Linked DNA regions of Homo sapiens: region 2 is linked to region 1. Evidence: promoter capture Hi-C in 16 types of primary human blood cells and fetal thymus (Javierre and others, 2016). All regions are on one chromosome and are shown on one strand. Each heading gives the region's core, a stretch centred on a gene start or on the middle of the fragment in contact. The rest is flanking DNA. Distances are from core to core; before and after follow the strand shown. Region 1 holds the start of ATG4C (autophagy related 4C cysteine peptidase). Region 2 holds the start of ACADM (acyl-CoA dehydrogenase medium chain).

The links. Contacts are between HindIII fragments. The CHiCAGO score rates a contact against its expected background, and 5 or more counts as called.
Region 2: a contact is called between the fragment with the promoter of ACADM here and the fragment with the promoter of ATG4C in region 1, in 1 of 17 cell types (non-activated CD4 T cells). The highest score is 7.5, in non-activated CD4 T cells.

What each region holds. Positions count from the first base shown.
Region 1 is chr1:62,782,737-62,785,892 of GRCh38, reverse strand. ATG4C (autophagy related 4C cysteine peptidase) reads right to left here and starts at 1,761. Exons shown (of 11, transcript NM_032852.4): 1 at 1,620-1,761. RefSeq lists a silencer at 1,281-1,575 and enhancers at 1,551-1,730, 1,851-1,910, 2,011-2,060. The HindIII fragment of the contact is 3,523 bases long and covers 596-3,156 here.
Region 2 is chr1:75,723,433-75,726,757 of GRCh38, reverse strand. It overlaps ACADM (acyl-CoA dehydrogenase medium chain), which reads right to left and starts at 2,049. Exons shown (of 12, transcript NM_000016.6): 1 at 1,941-2,049. The coding sequence starts at 1,970. It also overlaps a transcript of SLC44A5 not described here. RefSeq lists enhancers at 1,834-1,923, 2,574-2,663 and silencers at 2,054-2,103, 2,154-2,203. The HindIII fragment of the contact is 3,396 bases long and covers 1,553-3,325 here.

The DNA.
Region 1 (3,156 bases), core at 512-3,011:
TTTTTTCAATAAAAAATTATATGAGTAAATTTATTCTGAAATATATTTCGCCCCAAATCTTAAGCATGGCTGAAACCATTTCAGCATTTTGTGCATTAATTAGGAATAATCCCAATTTAACATTGTACCAGTATTAATATTTATATTTTACTGACATGTATAGATCATACTTGATAGCTTAAAAAAGAATGATAATCTTAGTATAAGAACCTCTTTAGTGCAATAATTGGAATAGAAAACGAGCTGCAAACTCATTTGAGTTACGTGGTTCCCCAGAAAGCCAGAAAATTTCTGCCTTTTTATAAAACATTAGTGAACAGAATACGATGCTGTTCACCAGAACCATCAAAACATCTAGAAATACTTCATAACCAATCACCATAAATACATTTTTCCAAATACTTGAATCCTATTTTAAAGAAAAAGAGCATTAATTAAATGGCTTTTAATGACTTTTTGCTAAATTATACAATTCTTTAGATGGGCCACTTTTTGACATGTGGTTCTAAAAATTTTATAGCGAATGAACTGGTAATTCAATATAGCCTCAGATTATTGGACTAAATAGAAACTCTTCCTGTTCAAAGAAGAAGCTTTATCAATTTGAAACTCAGAAAATACATAGACTTTACCTTTCAAAGCCTTTCCACTCCCTCTGGGTATTCTCAATGGCTCATAATCTAATTACAAGTCACAAGCAAGCAAGAAGATCATTCCCTTGTCTCTTTCTGCCATCAACTGACACAAAATCATTGCCAAAAACCCACCGGGGACATATGGTCCGAGCAGGAAAACATAAGAAAACTCCTAAGTAATTCGGATATAAAAAGATGTAAGACGAGGTATTCTTCTGTAACTATAGGGTAGCAGTGAGCCCCATGTGGGTAAATAACCAATACAAAACGAAAAGGTAAGCCAAAGAAATCACAAGAAATATAAACTCAATAAGCAGTGATGCTGAGTTGACCGCTGAAGGTTCTCATATATGAATATAGTCATCATATGTAAGAATTTATTCTACACCTCCAACCTCAAAAGCCCTTAGATGTGGGTAGGGTTGGGAGAGTTCACGGTGAGCGGGAACCAAATGAAGTGAATGAACGTTAATATTTAGATGGAAAGGCATTAATATATGCAAGGCAGTGTGTTATGGCTTGAAGCAGTAACAAACACCAAAAAGGGAGAAAGAGGCTAGGAATGAGAACAGAGAGACAGTGGGGATCCAGTTATTATTATTATTTCCCTTTTTTTATTTTTTAAACGAGGAAAAACAGGGCCGACAGAGCACTGGCATGAGGAGGGGTCAAATGGATGCGATAGATCAGGGGAAAGAGTCTTGCCTGCAACATCTAAGAAAACCACAAGGAAAGGAGGAACAGCTGCCCACAGTTAGGCTTACGGTTTATCTCTGCAACCCAGGACAAAGCGAGGAAGAGTTAGAAGACAAATGACACTAGAAAGGAGAGACAAGGAAGGCGCCAAAACCCTCAGAGAACCCAGATGGTTGGCCACAGGGTCTTCACTGAAGGCGGACCCCCGCAAGAAACCCAGTCATTCGGGGACCAGAGACGCTAAGTCCCAAACTTCTTGACTCCTTTAGCCTCAAGCCGATCCCTCACCGAAAGAGAAGGACTGGAGAACTGTAAAAATGTGCAGGAGCCACCAACCCGGCAAATGCTCCAGCTCTAGCAGCAGCCGCCACAAAACCAGCCCGCACACACGCAGACGTTCCGACCTCAGCGCCGCAGCTACAGGTACTTTGAGCACCCCGGCCACCGTAGTAAGAGGAACCGCCTCCGCGTCAAATCCAACAGATCAGCCACTTCCGGGATACGAAAGCCTTGCGATTGGCAGTAGCGATAGCAGCGGCGTAAAGGCCTCTGCTATGCTTACTTTATCCATCCCTTTTTCCCACCTGTTCGCCACCCCAAGCCGCTAATCCACCAATGCAGCAAGCGCAGAACCAAGAGAAAGTATCCGTCTGTGAGCATTGTCTCTCTGATAGACAAACCACATTACGGCTGCCATAAATTCCTCTCGAGCACTTGGACTTCAACTACCAGCAGGCCATGCAGCATCACGCCCTTGCCTCTGGCGTAGGAACTGCAAGATCCAGCATGCATTGCGGCCCTCCTTCCTCGCACTCAGGACCAAGATAGAGCCAACCCAAGCCTCACTTTGATTTAAAAAAAAAAAAAAAAAAAAAGCCAGGATGCCTTCTTTTCCTGTTGTGAAGGAACTCTAAGCCAAGCCATTATTAGGACTGTAGGTTATTTATAAAACATCAAGGGATATGTGCACTCATTTTCCATATTCAGATTATTTTCAAGCATTAAAACACAGGACAGTCGGGCGCGGTGGTTCGCGTCTGTAATCCCAGCACTTTGGGAGGCCGAGGCGGGTGGATCGCTTGAGGTTGGGAGTTCGAGACCAACCTGGCCAACATGGTGAAAGCCCGTCTCTGTTAAAAAATTAAAAAATTAGCCGGGCGTGGCGGCGGGCGCCTGTAATTCCAGCTACTCGGGAGCCTGAGGCAGGAGAATTGCTTGAACCCGGGAGGCAAAGGTTGCAGTGAGCAGAGATCGCGCCACTGCACTCCAGCCTGGGCGACAGAGCGAGGCTTTGTGGGGAAAAAAAAAAAAAAAAGAAGGAAAAGAAAAAGAAAGAAAGAAAAAAGGACGGTCCGAAGATGCTTTTTATAACGTGGAAATTTTTGGCCAGGCGCGGCGGCTGACGCCTGTAATCCCAGCATTTTGGGAGGCCGAGGCGGGCGGATCACTTGAGCCCAGGAGTTCCAGACCAGCCTGGCCAACATGGTGAAATCCCGTCTCTACTAAAAATATAAAAAATTAGCCGGGTGCGGTGGCGCGCGCCTGTAGTCCCAACTACTCAGGAGGCTGAGGCGGGAGAATCGCTTGAACTCGGGAGGCGGAGTTTTCAGTGAGCCAAGATTGTGCCTCTGCACTCCAGCCTGGGCGACAGAGCAAGACCCTGTCTCAAAAAAGTAAAAATAAATAAATAAATAAATAAATAAGTGGAAATTTTTATCTTCACTCCTAAATGATGTCAAGAGAAATACTGTTACTGTAAAATGTAATCCTATGCCGTTTTACAGTACCGCAGATTTTGTTGGAGCAAGGACTACCAGACATGCTT
Region 2 (3,325 bases), core at 800-3,299, about 13 Mb before region 1:
CAAATCTACTCTGATTTACAGTCGCGTTACACAGGTTAATTCACTGAATCCCAGGTCAAGTCTAGGATTAAGCCATTACTTTTATTCCACTTTCGCATGTGAAGAAACGAAGGCTCAGAAAGTCAACTAAATTAGGCAAAGTCACTCTACTATTAGTGCAACCAGGATTCTAACATTTACTATCAAGAGCGCATGCTATTAACCACCTTGCTATACTGATCTTTCTGTTAGTATCCTAATTGGTCACTAGGTTCCATAACAAAGGAAAACATTCCACAAAAATCAGAACAAAAAACCTGACTCTATTATAAATGCGTTTTTAAATACCATGCACAAAAGTCAGAACTCAAACCAGGTTAAATGGTCTACTGAGGGACTTTTTTTTTTTTTTGACAGAGTCTCCCTCTGTCACCCAGGCTAGAGTGCGGTGGAGAGATCTCCGCTCACTGCAGACTCAGCCTCCTGGGATTACAGGCATATGCTACCATGCCCAGCTAATTTTTCCTATTTTTAGTAAAGACAGGGTTTCCCTGCTTTGGCCAGGCTGGTCTCGAACTCCTGGCCTTAAGTGATCAACCCGCCGAGGCCTCCCAAGGTGCTAGGATCACAACCGTGAGCCGCCGCACCTGGCCAACCGAGGGAATTTAAATAGGGAAAAAGTCACTTCACATGTGACTGTTCAGGAAAATATGTTACATAGAACAAAGTGCAAAGGTTGCTATTACCAGAATACAATGCCCATCAACCTGTTAATTACATAACAAAGTTAGCCAGTTAATTAGAGAGGTGGTTTGCAAATAGAAAACAGAAACAGCACGGGATCTGGAGTTATAATTGCTGAATGTGAATCTAGGTTCCACAACCATATTTGTGGCCGTAGACAGGTTTACAAACTGCTTATAGCTTCCGTTCAAAACCAAAAAATGGGACTAATCTCACTGCGTATTTTCGGACGATTAAAGTACGATAATGTTTTGAAAGCCTAATGCTATATAACTATTGGTTTTATTACTTCGGGCTCTCTGTCTAGAACAATGAAATTCCAAATATCGAAACAGCACCACTAGAATTGAACACTTTTGTGCATTTCTTGGGAATATAAGAGTGTCAGTTTTATGGGTTAAAGAAGAGAAAAAGGGTGTAAGTTTTCTATATCAGGTTTTTTTTAGATCCTTCCTTGGAGGTTGAGAAATCTGCTTTTCTGGTGTAGGAGTTAAAAATAGCTGAAATCTCCCAATTTCTGCCTTCACTGCACATTAACTTGCATAACACCAGCAAAACATGGGCAGCAATTCTTTAGGATTATTCTAAAACCGCAGCTTTTTTGGTCCAAGACATAACTTTAACTTAATTTTAAGTGACATCTAAATGGCAGTGGTGTGAACATATCAAGAATATTTAAGATACCAAAATTCATCTAGTGACAAACTTATTTAGAATCTATTAAGATCCAATACTAGAATATACACACAAGTTCACATAAAATTCTGCAGGTTTTTTTTTTACTTTTTTTTTTCCCGTAAGCAACGTGGAAACGTTACAACGAAAAGCTTATTAAACATTAAGTATTTCAAGGAGTAGCTGCTCCATTTTTCTTTTTCCCGTGGTTCTGACACAGAGACGGGGTCACTTTGGAAAAAGGTGGGATTCCCGCGGTAAATATTTGGAGGGTTTACCAGAGAAAGAAAAACGATATTCTAAAGAGAGGATGCCGGCTATAACGGGGTCGCCTGACGGGAGGATACGGAAAATGAAACGCTAGGCTACGTTCCGTCCGGTGGTAGGAGGCGTGAAAGCAGGTTGGGGGCCCCTAGGCTGGCTCCTTCCTCAGCCCGACTTCCCACTCCTCCCGGCCGCACCTATTTTTGGCCCAGGGCCCCCTGCTCCGACACCACAATACCCATGTTCCAGCCCCACCGCACCGCTGGGCTCCCTCTCACCCTGCAGCATCGCCCGAACCCCGCTGCCATGTTGGCTCCCGTTCCGGCCACTCGGACAATAATACACGGGTCACGGCCTTGACATACTCCCCGAACGCGGGACTCCTCTGGTCCCGCCCACTGGAGCCCGTGGGCGGGATGGGGCGGGGCGGGAAGAGGCGGTTGGGCTGCGGAAGGACGGGGCGCTGCGCTAGGCGGGGTGGCAGCGGTCCCCGGCGCCGGGTAGCCAACGCATGCTCCGTGACCCTTGCGTGCGCCGTCGCTGCGACCTGGGGAGGGGTCGCATCCCCTCTCCGGGCAATCTCTGATAGTCCTGGTTTGGTTTTCTGCGTTTCCACCTCTGGCCCTCTCTGTGGGACGCCGAGGCTGACCGCAGCGCGGAAAGAGAGCCAGGGCGGGGGAGGGGGACGGCGGCGGGGCTGGGAGGGCCCGGTTGCGCTGAACGGTGGGGGGACTTGCGGCGCGGTGCAGGACGGGAACCTGGGTTAGAGGGCGTGGCTGGGGCCTGGAGGGAGAGCGGCCCCCGTGGTCAGCCTTCACCTTTACCCGGAGAGAACGGTCAAACCCAGATCGTGTCTGCTTGGCGGATTCAAAGTATTAGTACATTTTGCTCTCAAATGCCCTACCTAAAGCGAAAGCATACTTGTGTTTCCTTAAAATTTAAAAGAGAATTTAATTGTTTAGGTAAATTTGACCTTTCCGCGTATTCCCAAGGCTGTTTATGACTTGTCCGCTGATGTGGTGTCCTTGGATATGCGGGTGCAATCCGAGGCTGTCCAAAGCTCCTGGTTCAGCGAATGATGGAAGTGAATGTCTCCCTGAGGAATTCTACCTGGAGTCACTTTCTCTTCCAGTGAGACCCTGAGTTTTGAGATGGTAGCTTATACTAAATCTTATACTAACTTAACATTTTCTTTTGCCCAATAAAGGTCACCCATAAATTCATCTAATTTAGCTGTTAAAATTCTATATCCTGTTATTGTATTCCCCTACTTTGTCTTCTGGGAATTTATAGTGTGTTAGTCCTAGGTACAAGGCAGAATGTTAATTAAGCGCTATATTCAAAGTGAAAGTACCAGGAAAATTCGGAAAAGGGATAAAGAGCTGAGTTTGTCCTGGTATAGGCAAGAAAGCCTTCAAAGTGGTGGTGGTAAGTAAAACACAAAGCGGACTCTTAAAGATGATTAGGAATTGTCTATTCATGTCTCCTTTGTTCCAATTTCTTATTCTGAACATTTTAAACACAGAAAAGATGAACGAAAAGCACAAAATCACCCATATGCCTATTGTAACCCCTTCTTACTGTACACGTGGCTGGCAGAGAAGCGAAGATGGAGCCCTCATCTTAAACATGTCTAGTCGGTAGTTCCTGCCACCATTCACCC